Linked DNA regions of Homo sapiens: region 1 is linked to region 2. The links are contacts of gene promoters, found by promoter capture Hi-C in human tissues and cell types (Jung and others, 2019). All regions are on one chromosome and are shown on one strand. Each heading gives the region's core, a stretch centred on a gene start or on the middle of the fragment in contact. The rest is flanking DNA. Distances are from core to core; before and after follow the strand shown. Region 1 has its middle 130 kb from the start of GPR139. Region 2 holds the start of PDILT (protein disulfide isomerase like, testis expressed).

Region 1 (6,719 bases), core at 1,266-3,765, 200 kb after region 2:
CACACACAGTGGAGCCACCGATTTCAGAAAGCAGAGGTTCTATGCAGAAGGGAGACTAGACCTTTCAAGGAGGCAACAACAGCAGAAACCTTGGGAGGGCAGAGAGACCTAACCCGGACAGTCCCAAGGATAGAGCTGTGACTTGCTGGTGCCCAGAATAGAGCACTCTCCGCATCCTGCTAACTGGCTAAACAGGAGGAAGTAGTAAATCTGATAGGGCTGGAATGAAATGGCCCTTCCAGATTCATTCTAGAGGAGAATGTAAAGAAGCATTGAAATGTGAAACGCTTTCAATGGACTTCCAAGGGAAGCCCAAACAGAACTCCCTTTATGGGAGGATCTCCATTTAGAGGCAAGCACAATGGGGACACAGTCAATTATCCATCAACACTGCATAGCCTCTTTCAGTCTCCATTCACATTCTTGCATCCAGTCCAAGCAAGCAACATGGAAGACGTGGGCGCAGTGATGCTCGTACACACAAACAAATAAACACACACACACGGACACACACACACACAAGCTCAGTATGAATGCCTGGTTCTGACCCATTCCTCCCACTGAGCTCCACCCTGAGCTCAGTCCTCCTGGCTTCTGACCCTAAGCTGGCTCTCCTGTTTTCAGCTCACCCAACCGTCTATGCTCAGCCCCACCTCCTCAGATTTGCCTTGACTGCCCCGCAGCCACGATTTGAATTTTCCTTCCAGCCAGGCTGCCTTGAAAGCTGCTTCAGTAAATGCTCTCGTCTGTTTGACATGCAGAGTGTTTTGTATGAAAAGATTATAGATCTTGGAGCCTTGTTTTGAAGACTGTCTTTACTCATTCCCAGCAGCATGACCTTGGGCAAGTGATATAACCTCCCTGAGTCTCAGTTGGCTCATCTGTGAAATGGGAACACCACCACCCACCTCAGCATTGCAATGAAGATCAAATGAGAGATCCCTGATTTACTGTAGTATCTGGCACAGAGAAATGCTACATAAGGAAAACTTCCTTTCATTCCCTTTTCCCTTACCAAACCAAGTGGTTTTCTTATGATCCCTAGTCTGAAATTAAGTACTTATTATGATGATCATGGTTTATTTTTCCCAGTTCTCTTGATTATGTTGAACAGAAACCAGATAAGTAGCACTTGTTTAGAATTTCTTGCATTTTTAGTAATTCTAAGAATAACCATTGCAGCACTAATAATGACATATATTTGATTTCTCCCCTGCTTACCCTCAGAGAGTATATTTTTATGCAGCTGGTTGTTTTGGGGATTGTTTCTTTGTTTTATACACTTTTTTGCTGCCCTATTAAGAAGTTATCCTTGCCGGGAGCAGTGGCTCACGCCTGTAATCCAGCACTTTGTGGGGCCAACGCAGGTGGATCGCTTGAGCCCAGGAGTTTGTGACCAGCCTGGCCAATATGGCAAAACCCCGTCTCTAAGAAAAATGCAAAAATTAGCCGGGCATGGTGGCAGGCACCTGTAATCCCAGCTATATAGGTGGCTGAGGCAGGAGAATCGCTTGAACCTGTGAGGTGGAGGTTGCAGTGAGCCGAGATCGCGCCACTGTACTCCAGCCTGGGCTACAGGGGAGACTGTAAAAAAAAAAAAAAAAAAGAACTTATCCTTAAATTATGACAATGCAGTGATGAATGAAGTGTAAGCCCAGAGAGTTTGAGTGGCTTACATCACTCAGCAAAGCCATGGCTGTAGCCCATTATTACAGTGGCTCTCACTCAGAGGTGGCACCCCTCACCATAAGAGTCATTTGGAAATGTAGGGAGCATTTTATGTTTTCATAGTGACCGAGGGGACACCGCTGACCATGGGAGGGTTAAACAATATGCAAAACCATCTTCAATGTGCAGGATTCACCCAGCCCCAATACCTATAGTGTCATGATGAGAAATACCAGGTAAAACCCCATGGAGCCACACAGAAAATTCTGGGGGAACTGGGGCTGGGATCAAGGATTGTTTCCACCCAGAGTAGGTTTTCAATTAAAAAAAAAAAATTTAGAGCCAAGTGTGGTGGCTCATGCCTGTAATTAACGCACTTTGGGAGGCCAAGGTGGGAGGATGGCTTGGGGCCAGGAGCCTGAGAGCAGCCTGGGCAATATAGGAAGGCCGCACCCCTAAAATAATAAATAATTAGCTAGGCATGGTGGTGCATGCCTGTAGTCCCAGGTACTCAGGGGCCTGAGATGGGAGGGTCTCCTGAGGCCAGGAGGCTGAGGCTGCAGTGAGCTATGATGGTGCCATTGCACTCCAGTCTGGGCAACAGAGAAAGACCCTGTCTGTAAAAGAATTCTTAAACATATGTAACAGACATGTAATAGATACAGATGTCAATTTAGCGCTTGTTCTATAAACTAAATGGACAAAATTTTCACAGTACTTTATTTCCTCTGAATTAAATTTTAATCCCAGCCTCATCCCATTGGTCAGTCAGGAAATTCAATCCTAGTTATTATCAGAGCTTCTTCCCACTCTCAAGGACTAAGAAAGAGCCTCAAAGTTCTTAGAAAGTGCCAAATATTCTGAGCGATCTCAAGCCACTTAGCCCTCTGGAGTCAGGCAGCTGTACTGCTGATGAGTCTTGTTTGGCCGTGGGAGCCTCAGTGGAGGCTGGAAGCCAGCACCTAAGTACACCTTCAAGGAGGCACCTTGACCATCAGCTTGAGCTCTTAACACCCTTACGAGGAAGCCAACCACAGATTTCAACGCCTCCCAGAGCCTGACCACCTTCCTAGACTAAGGATTCACTTTTCTCTTCTCTCTGTGCTTCTTACATCTGCTCCAGCCCCCAGAAGAACTTGTCTCCCTCATCCTCACTTTTTCAAGACCCATCTAACATTATTTCCTGAATAAGCTTTGATTTTCAAAACCAAATGTTAGGAAGGAGGTCCACCTTCCAGACGAAACATACAAAGGACTGGCTACCTTCTCAGAAAACACCTCATTTTATTTATTCTGAGATGTGCATTTTTCTTGTGTCATCGGTTAATTGGTAGTATGTTTTGTTTTTTCTTAGTGAAATACAAAACAGTGGTGCCTTTTAAAAATCAATAGCATTTTAAATTCAATGGGATAGGGAACAGGAAAACAAAGCACAAATGAAGACTTTAATAGGCGATCCAGCCCCACACTGCCAAGATAGAACCCTCACTCAGCTCACAGGGAGCAGCTAAAGGCTGGAAAATTGAAATGTCCCTGAGAAAACATGACAGTGTCAGTGAAGAAAGAATTCCAATATTTGTCTGTGGTTTGTAATTTCTAGACACAGGCCCTGAAGTCCCTGTGTCCCTGGATGAGCTCCCCAAGTATTGCCAAATGGAGACAAAAAAGACAGAGCTTCGAGCTCCAGCACAGCAAGTCTTTGACTGGAATGGAGTGGAGGAAGGACCTGTCCACCAAGTGGCTTTAGGGACTCTGGCTTGATGTGAAGTGGATTAGCTTCAAGTTGACGATTATCCTTTCTGAACACCAAGCATGCCTCATGGCTTTCCTGATCATTCATTTAGAACAAGACGCTGCCTTTGAAATCCTGGGGGATTGGTTCTGCCTGACCTCCTAAAACACATCTCCTGTCCCTGTCTCTTCTAAGCCTGGTTCAGCAGAAGGGGTACAGGCTTCAGAGGGGACCCAGACAGACCTGCTTTTACATCCCAACCCCTCCAGATATTAGATGTTGTAAACAAACTACTTAATCTCTTTGGTGCTAGGTTATTTCGTTTCTTTCTCTTTCTTTCATTCTTTCTTTCTTTCTTTTTCTTTCTTTCTTCCTTCTTTCCTTCCTTCCTTCCTCCCTCCCTCCTTCGTTTCTTTCTCTTTCTTTCACTTACGCTCATGTAACCTTTACTATGTGTCATATACCATCCTAAACACTTCACAAAATTATTTTTTTTAATCCTCAGAACAGCCTATCAAGTAGATGTTACTGTTTTTAACATCTTTGTTTACAGTCTAGGAAACTGAGGTATGGGGGTTTATGTTATTCACCTGTGTTCACATAGCCAGTAAGCAACCAAGTGAGGATTCAGTTGCAGACAGCCTGGGCCCAGGGTTGTGAATTTCCCTACTGTCCTCTGCCTTGCTCCCTCTCTTGTCAGCAAAAAATAATAACATCTTCTAGGTTATTCTGACACTTAAATGATGTATGTAAAGTCCCTGCCACGCAGTAGGGCTTGAAGAAATGATAGTAATCCAAGTCAACAAAAATATACTCTGGGGAAGACACACTTCAATAAGTGGTGCTGGGAAAATTGGATAGCCATATGCAGAAGAATGAAACTGGACCCATATATCTCAGCATATACAAAAATTAACTCAAGTTGGATTAAAGACCTAAACAGAAGACCTGAAACTATAAAAATTCTGAAAGAAAACCTAGGAAAAACTCTTCTGGACGTTGGCCTAGGCAAAGAATTTATGACCAAGTCCTCAAAAGCAAACGCAATAAAAACAAAATAGACGAATGGGACTTAATTAAACTGAAAAGCTTCTGCACAGCAAAAGAAACAATCAATAGAGTAAACAGACAACCTGCAGAATGGGAAAAAAATATTTGCAAACTATGCATCCAACAAAGGGCTAATATCCAGAATCTACAAGGAACTCAAACAACTCAACGAGAGAAAAAAATAACCCGAATAAAAAGTGGGCAAAGGACATGAACAGACATTTTTCAAAAGAAGAAATACAAGAGACAAACAAACGTCTTTTTAAAAATGCTCAACATCACTAATCATCAGAAAAATGCACAAATCCCAATGATATACTGTCTTACACCAGTCAGAATGGCTATTATGAAAAAGTCAAAACCAACAGATGCTGGCAAAGATGCAGAGAAAAAGGAACACTTATATGCTGTTGGTGGGAATGTAAGTTAGTAAAACCTTTATGGAAAAGCAGTGTGGATATTCCTCAAAGAACTATATATACAGAGCTGCCATTCAATCCAGAGAATCCCGCAAATATTTTTTCTCATTTTCCCAAAGGAAAAAAACGTCATTATATCAAAAAGATACTGCACTCATATGTTTATTGCAGCACTATTCATAAGAGCAAAGATATGGAATCAACCTAAGTGTCCATCAACAGAGGAGTGAATAAAGAAAATATGGTAATTTCATATAATACATATTTTATGGTATAATGTATAAATATAATACACATATTTATATGGTATATATGGTGGGTATATATACCATTATATATTTCATATTATATATAAAATTTTATACTTTTATTCATATAAAATTTATAATTATATATAAATAATATATAAATATATAAAATTTTATATTATGTGTGTATGTGTGTGTGTATATCTATATATACATATATATGTGTGTATATATATATATATATATATATATATATATATATCTCACCATGGAATACTACTCAGCCATAAAAAAGAGTGAAATCATCTCTTTAGCAGCAACATGAATGGAACTGGAGGCCATTATCCTGAGTAAAATAACTCAGAAACTAAAAGTCAAATACTAATACTGCATGTTCTCACTTATAAGTAGGGGCTAAACAATGGATACATGTGGGCATACAGAGTGCAATAATAGACACTGCTGACCCAAAAAGATCAGAGGGCAAAAGGGGGATGAGGGCTGAAAAATGACCTATCGGGTATAATGTTCAGTATTGGGGTGATGGGTACTAAAAGCCTAGACTTCACCACAACACAATACAGGCATGTAAGAAATCTACACTTGTACCTCCCAAATATATAAACATTTCTTAAAATTCTTTTTAAAGAAATAATACTCATCAACTTCATTCTCTGGGCTTCCACTCTTTTAATTCACATAAATAAATTATACTTGTATTGTTTTATAAGCTTAGAAAATGCTTTTAACTAAATGACTCCAGCTCATCCTTATAACAGTCCTATCATCTTTTTAAAAATAATAATGTTGGCTGGGCGTAGTGGCTCACGCCTGTAATCCCAGCACTTTGGGAGGCCGAGGTGGGTGGATCACAAGGTCAGGAGATCGAGACCATCCTGGCGAACACGGTGAAACCCCATCTCTACTGAAAATACAAAAAATTAGCCAGGCGCGGTGGCAGGTGCCTGTAGTCCCAGCTACTCGGGAGGCTGAGGCAGGAGAATGGCATGAACCTGGGAGGCGGAGCTTGCAGTGAGCCGAGATAGCGCCACTGCACTCCGGCCTGGACGAAAGAGCGAGACTCTGTCTCAAAAAATAATAATAATAATAATAATAATAATAATAATAATGTTAACATATAGTACTTTATATGTCCCAGGCACTATTTATTGTGTCTTATGTTCTGTAGTCCTAAATTCACTTCGTCATATAGCTCTGTGAGGTAAGTACTATTATTATCCCCATATTTACTGACCCAGAGAGGTTAAGTAGCATGATCAAGCTCATACACCTAGTAAGTAGTGGTGCTGGTATAGAACCCAGAGAGACAGGTTTCAGACTGTGATGCCTACATATAAGGCAATTAAAGTTTATGAACCCTCTAACAGGTAACAGTGAGGAAGTGCCAGAATCAGGACTCAAACCCAGGTCTGTCTGCCTCCAGCGCCCCCAGTAGATTTTTCTGACCTGCTGTCTTGCACATCCAAGTAATCTAATAGAAATAGCTTTGAGTTGATGGCCAGCAGTAAAATAGAATAATCAGTCAACTGCTGGGTGACCTTGGGCAAATCAGTTTACCTCCATGCTTCACCTGAAAAATTA
Region 2 (6,764 bases), core at 1,492-3,991:
GGTTATGGGTGTCCTATAGAGAGGATGCTGAGCCATTAACTGCCTATCTTTGCAGTGATTCAAACTTCACCCTGGATTTTTATCCATCACTGTATGTTGTTCCCCTGTGACTCTGTCTCATTTCCTGGCCTGGCCAGTTTGGCCCATTTCCACGCAGGCAGCTCCTCTCCCTTGCCGCCAAGCTTGGCCACAGGGAACCATCTTATGAGCCCTCAATGTCCATTTGCTCAGCATTCAGTCCTCTACTGCGACCCAGGATACAACCTCATCTCTGAATCTGCAGCCAGATGTAAAGATACAATCTCTACCCTCAGAGGGGTGGACGGACTGTTGAACATTATTTCTCCAGCAGTCTAATCTCAATATCGTTACTCTCAATCAGTACTTTTTAGAAGAATATATAATCATAAGTCATGACAAATGTTTCATAAATGTTCAATGAAAGAACTGGATACACTTTATAGACAATATAATCACAATTTTATTTTTAAAAAGTATATATTAATCCCATACGTAACAAAATATGAATGTTTCTCTAAGTAAGATGATGTATGATTTCAATTAACTCATTTTTTCTGTATGTTCTATGTTTTAGAAATTAAATCCTGTTCTTTTCTAATCAGAAAGAAATTAATGTTATTTTATAAAAAGAAGCTTTAAGCCGGGCACAGTGGCTCACGCCTGTAATCCCAGCACTTTGGGAGGCCGAGGTAGGTGGATCACCTGAGGTCAGGCGTTTGAGACCAGTTTGGCCAAAATGGTGAAACCTCGTCTCTACTAAAAATACAAAAATTAGCCGGCCGTGGTGGTGCATGCCTGTAATCCCAGTTACTCAGGAGGCTGAGGCAGGAGAATTACTTGAACTCAGGAGGCGGAGGTTGCAGTGAGCCAAGATTGCACCACTGCACCCCAGCCTGGGCAAGAGAGCAAGACTCTGTCAAAAAAAAAAAAAGCAGCAGCAGCTTTATCAGTAAATGAGTATCATCATAAAAGTGCCTATGTTATGTCAAGAAACAACTGTGTGCAAGAGTGAAGGAAAATGAATGAAGGACATTTGGGATAATAACCCAAGTGTTTTAGTTTGTGACTAACAGTTGACAAGTGTGAAAGATGTCAAAATAATATATGCCAGACTAGATTGTTGATTTAGGCCTGGGAGAAAAAAGAGTCAAACACATCCCAGGAATTATTTGCAAACACAACATCCAGAAAAGGAATAATTGCCAAGAAAAGTTGAAAGGGACATGATGAGTTCAAATTAAGACATTCAGATATTCAGTGAGTGTGGTTCAACCAAAAAGAGCTTTTCTAATAGGCAGATGGAAAACGGTCTTAATAGTAAATGTAATCAATTGATCAAATCCTGGAGAGTAAATGAGAGAGTAACTTATAAAGGGGTGTATTTGAAGTCATGCATTTAAACAAGCCAACAAAAGTATGGAAGTTAAGTATGGAAAGAGAAGAGTGGGGCCGCATGCCGTGGCTCACGCCTGTAATCCCAGCACTTTGGGAGGCCGAGGCAGGCAGATCATTTGAGGTCAGGAGTTTGAGACCGACCTGGCCAATGTGGTGAAACCCCGTCTCTACTAAAAATACAAAAATTAGCCAGACGTGGTGGTGCATGCCTGTAGTCCCAGCTACTCAGGAGGCTGAGGCAGGAGAACCGCTTGAACCCTGGAGGTGAAGGCTACAGTGAGTGGAGATCGCGCCACTACACTGTCTCAAAGAAAAAGAAAAGAAAGAGAAGAGCAAAGCGCTAGGACTAAAACCCACAGATGTTAAAATTTAGTGAAATGAATGTTAGTCATCTCCATCAGTATTTAATAACAGTTGGGCAGCAGATAGCCAAAGGCTGCAAACTCTGACAGTAATAACGATGCTAATAATATCAACAGCCTTTTCTTTATTCATTCAACAAATATTTACTGAGCACCTATCACCAGGTAAGCAAAGTAAATTATGTGGAGTTTAGAAGAAAATTAATGCTATGAAGGAAAATAAAGCCTGGAAGGAGGATGAGGAACGCCTGAGAGGGGGATGGGGCACTTACAAATTTAAACAAAGTGGCCAGGAAAGGCCCAACTGTGGAAGTGACATTTGGGCAAAGACTGGAACGAGCTAAGGGGTGAACCCTGAGTCCACCTGGGTGAAGAGCCTCCCTAACAGGGGAAACCACAAGTGTAGAGGCCCAGACATTGTATTGGAGGACTGGCAGGGACACCAGTGTGGCTGGAGCAGGGTGAGTGGAGATCTTTCTCCCCTAGGAGATGAGGCCAGGGTGGTGATGCGTGAGGGGCTCCTGCCTTCTAGGTACTGAGCTGCTCGTTTTGCATAAATCCTCTTATTTTATCCCATCCCCCTCTCAGGCGTTCCTCATCATCCTTCCAGGTTTTATTTTTCTTCATATCATTAATTATCTTCTAAATTCCACATAATTTACTTTGCTTACAACACCCCCATGAGTTAGATGCCATGTAACAGGCATGGAAACTGAACCTCAGAAAGAGTAAGTGACATTCTCAAGGCCATACAGCTGTTCAAGACAGAGCTGGGATTCAAATTCCAATCTATAGGCACTGAGTTCAGAGCCCTCCTGGGCCATACCCAGCACCCCACACTGAGTTTTGTTTCTAGCCCCTCAAGCAAACTCAGCAAGGGCTGCCAGGCAGGGCCCCCTCTTACTCAACAATGGCCCATTCTTCTACAGGGTCACCCCTGGTCCTCTAGAACCCCAGAACTCAGAACTTTGCTGCTGAGGCTGCTGTGGCCTCTGTGTGCCCAGGAAGGGACTTCATTTCTGCCTGTGGATTCTTTAGAATGCCCAGTCGTCTGCGGGTCCTGCCCTGATCACAAGGAGAAGCCAGGAGCCTCCTCTTCAGGCTACAACCTTCCTTCTTAAGGGCCACAGAGTTTGTGGCCCCACCCCCAGCACAGCCCCACCTTGGCCCCAGGAACCCTGGGAGTGGCCTTGGCTTCCTGCAGGTATGAGCTTCAGTGAAAATGGGAAATCTGACTGATGGGCCCTGCCTTGGGAGGCTTTTCTCTACCAGGAGTCACCAGTTTAAGTTTTAAGTGTCAGTTTTGGTGTATAGATGGCTACACATTAGGATCAACTTGAGGATTTTAAAAAATAATAATAATGCCCAGACTCACCCAACCCCAGATCAATTAAATTAGAACCTACTGGGTTTGGGTTTGAACATCAGTATTTTTTATTAAACTCTCCAAGAGATTCTCAGCATAGTCATGGTTGAGAACCACTGAAATGAACCAATGGGGTTTGCTGTAAGAGTTAAATTAGGCCATTCATTCATTCATTCAACAAACATTCATTGAGTTCCAAATCTGGTACAGGCACTGTTCTGAAGGGGAGAAAACAGCTGTGAACAATGGTATTTACATTAAAAAGTTCAAAATGACAACAACAACAAAGTACACTCATAAATAATAATACAAAATATGATGCAAACAATGGTGATATGGCAGAGAGTGCTGAAAGCTGAGATGGGGTGAGACAGAGTGGCCCGGGAAGACCCTTCTGATGAGCGTGGATTCGAGCTAGGACCCAGAGAACCAGAAAAGGCTGACGATGTGAGGGAAGGGTGCCCCAGACAGAGGCAAAGGCCCCGGGTAGGGTGTGCTTGGGAAAGGGAAGAGGCCAGTGTGGCTCCCCAGAGTGCGGGAGGAGAGAGAGAGAGGAGGGCGATAAGGTCAGATGGGTCCAGAGCCAGTGGGGCCTGGTAGACCACAGAGAACAGTTTGGCTGGTGTGCGGTTTTGCGAATGGATTGTAAAAAAAAAAGAGGCAGAAGCTTTTTTTTGCACAAAAGTGAGCACCTTTTGATAGGCACAGTGGTGTGATGGAATTCCTGTGTCGAAAGGAAATCTCTGCTGGGCACGGTGGCTCACGCCTGCAATCTCAGCACTTTGGGAGGCCCAGGCAGGTGGATCACCTGAGGTCAGGAGTTTGAGACCAGCCTGGCCAACATGGTGAAATCCCGTTTCTACTAAAAATACAAAAATTAGCCGGGCATGGTGGCGGGTGCCTGTAGTCCCAGCTGCTAGGGAGGTTGAAGCAGGAGAATCGCTTAAACCCAGGAGGCGGAGGCTGCAGTGAGCCAAGATCATGTGATTGCACTCCAGCCTGGGCAACAAGAGCAAAACTCTGTCTCAAACAATAAAAATAAAAATAAAGGAAATGTCTGATTGTTGTGTGGGGAATGGGTTGAGGTGAAGCACAAAGAGTAGAAGCAGAGGCAGGATCAGTAAGGAGGTTACCACACCCTCTTGGCGGGAAACCACAGTGGCTGGGACATGGGGTCTCTCCACGGCATACAGGGAGAATGCACACAGGGAGAATGTGGAGGGAATGCACACAGTTGACACTCAGCACAATATGGCTGGTGACCAGCCCCTCGATTTTGGCTATTCTCATTAATAAAAGTTTCCCATGACAGCCACTCTCCTCTGAGTAGGGGGTAGGGAGCTGATGTTGGAGCTGAGCTTGGACTTTGTGAGGCTGGGGGACACAGCGGAGCCACAGTGGTGTCAGGCTAGAAAGGCAGGTGCCGGCAGAACCAAGGGCCAAGGCTGAGAGAATAAAGGGGCAGGTCAGGGCAGGCTGCAGGCAGGATGGCTGAGAGCACAGTCCCAGGGCTGGACAGGGTGGATGCTACAGTCTCAGGGGAGCCCTGGGATGCTGCAGAGCTGAGCCAGGTATTGTGGGAGAGATTGGGAGAAAAAACAGCAGCAGGGCAGAGAGAGACTATTTCTCCCACACTCCCAGAAATGCAAATACAGTAGTTCACTTCTTTGCTTCCCTTAGTCAAATGTCAACTTCTAAATGAAGCTTTCCCACGGTCACCCTATTTTAAAATATCAGCCAGGCACAGTGGCTCATGCCTGTCATCCCAACACTTTGGGAGGCCGAGGTGGGCGGATCACCTGAGGTCAGGAGTTCCAGACCAGCCTGGCCAACATGGCGAAACCCTGTCTCTACTAAAAATACAAAAATTAGCCGGGCATGATGGCACGCGCCTATAATCCCAGCTACTCCAGAGGCTGAGGCAGGAGAATCCTTTGAACCAGGGAGACGCAGGTTGCAGAGAGCCGAGATCGCGCCACTGCATTGCAGCCTGGGCGACAGAGCGAGACCCTGTCTCAAAAGAAAAGAAAAGAAAAGAAAAGATCAACACTCCTCCCTGACTCCAACACTTTTGAATCTTCTCTTATCCACCTTTTCTCCTTTGCATTACCATCATCTGACACACCATTGATTGCATCTATTTATCTCACTGCATTTCCCACTACTAAGATGTAAGGAATATTGTTTGTATCCCTAGCACCTAGAATGGTACTTAACATGTTTTAAGACTTCAAAAATATTTGATGAATGAATGAGTGAGCAAGTGAGTAAAGAGGAGCTGTGGCTGGCTCCGTGGAGCCAAAGGGAAGCCTGGTGGCCAGAGTCTGACCGACTGTGGAGGGCTCTGCTCACTAGCCAGTGGGGCTTGATCTCCGTCCTGTTGGACATGAATCACTGGAAACATTTGAGGCTTATGATCCAGCCTGCCCAGGTTAGCAGGAAACCTGACACCTCCCACTGCCCCTTCCTTGATCAGGAACTCAGGGCGAACACTCTGCCAAAGGCCTGGGAGACGAGGACATGAGAGGGAGCCCACTGTAGCTCCTCCCGCCTGGCTTTTGCTCAGAGGCTCAGCCCTCCACGGTGGCTGAGCTGGGCCCATGGTTCAGCTCTGTACCCTGAAGGTGTCCAGCTGACTCAGGGTCACTGGCCCAGTGTCCTCTGTCCTCCAGCAAGTGCCATCCACACCCCTCAGAGATGGTCTCACAATCTTGAATTTCAAGGTTTCTTCTCTGAAGGCCCCTTGAGGCTTTTGCAGATCTGGCCCTTTCCTGCCAGGCAAGGGATTCTGGGCACCGAGGAGGTTTGGAAGGTTTGAAGGGACTGTCAGGCCTAGGACGGTTCTGGGTGACCCTCCCTACCTTACGTTTATGTCACAAAGGAGGGGTTATTCAAGTGACTTTCTGTAGAATAAAAACTAACTCTCTAGTACTTTGATGTCTCCAGCTGGGCAAAGAATTCTTAGGCAGCCGTTTCTCTCACAAGTAAGTGAATCAAAGAACAAATAAACAAGGAAGTAAATTATTTCTAAGAACAAGGGTTCTACCTAATAGTCATCATGCTGTACCAGACTTAGTCCGGGCTGATAAGTGGCATAACACCTGGTGAATTCTGGGACCTTGAGATCATCAAGGACTCAAGGCTGGGCTGACAGTAATGAGCCCTTTGGCTGAGACACAGATTTAAATGGTCTGTATCATTTAGCTGTCCAGAAAACCAGGTTATCCACTTGCCCTTCTTCCTTTTCTCCACTTGCCCTTTGTTGGTTTCATTTGACCATGTGCTTCTCAAGCTACAAACTGAATGATAGATTTACCTGGGAGAGGCTCAGGAGACAAAACAAGCAATGACAATTCATGGATTTCATTTGAGTCCTGATTTAAACAGACTTAAAATTTATGAGGCCATCAGGGTAATTCGCACACTGTCTAGATATTTGATGATATGATGACATTATTGTGCATTTCATTAAGTATGATCATAGTATTGTGGTTATTGTGTTGTTTTGAAAAATCCTTACCTTTTAAATATTTATAATAAAATATTTATGGGTGAAATGACATGATTCCCAGAATGGATTCAAAATAATCCAAGGCAGGGAGTCAAGAATATAAATAAAA

What was found. Contacts are between HindIII fragments. The study calls those that stand out against the background at their distance.
Region 1: a contact is called between a fragment that was not itself captured here and the fragment with the promoter of PDILT in region 2, in 2 of the 25 tissues and cell types used here (mesenchymal stem cells and spleen).

Annotation. Positions count from the first base shown.
Region 1 is chr16:20,197,103-20,203,821 of GRCh38, reverse strand. No RefSeq gene overlaps it. Among named protein-coding and RNA genes, the nearest start is that of GPR139, 130 kb to the right of the region's middle. The HindIII fragment of the contact is 5,308 bases long and covers 1-5,169 here.
Region 2 is chr16:20,400,714-20,407,477 of GRCh38, reverse strand. It overlaps PDILT (protein disulfide isomerase like, testis expressed), which reads left to right and starts at 2,741. Exons shown (of 12, transcript NM_174924.2): 1 at 2,741-2,982. The HindIII fragment of the contact is 3,912 bases long and covers 419-4,330 here.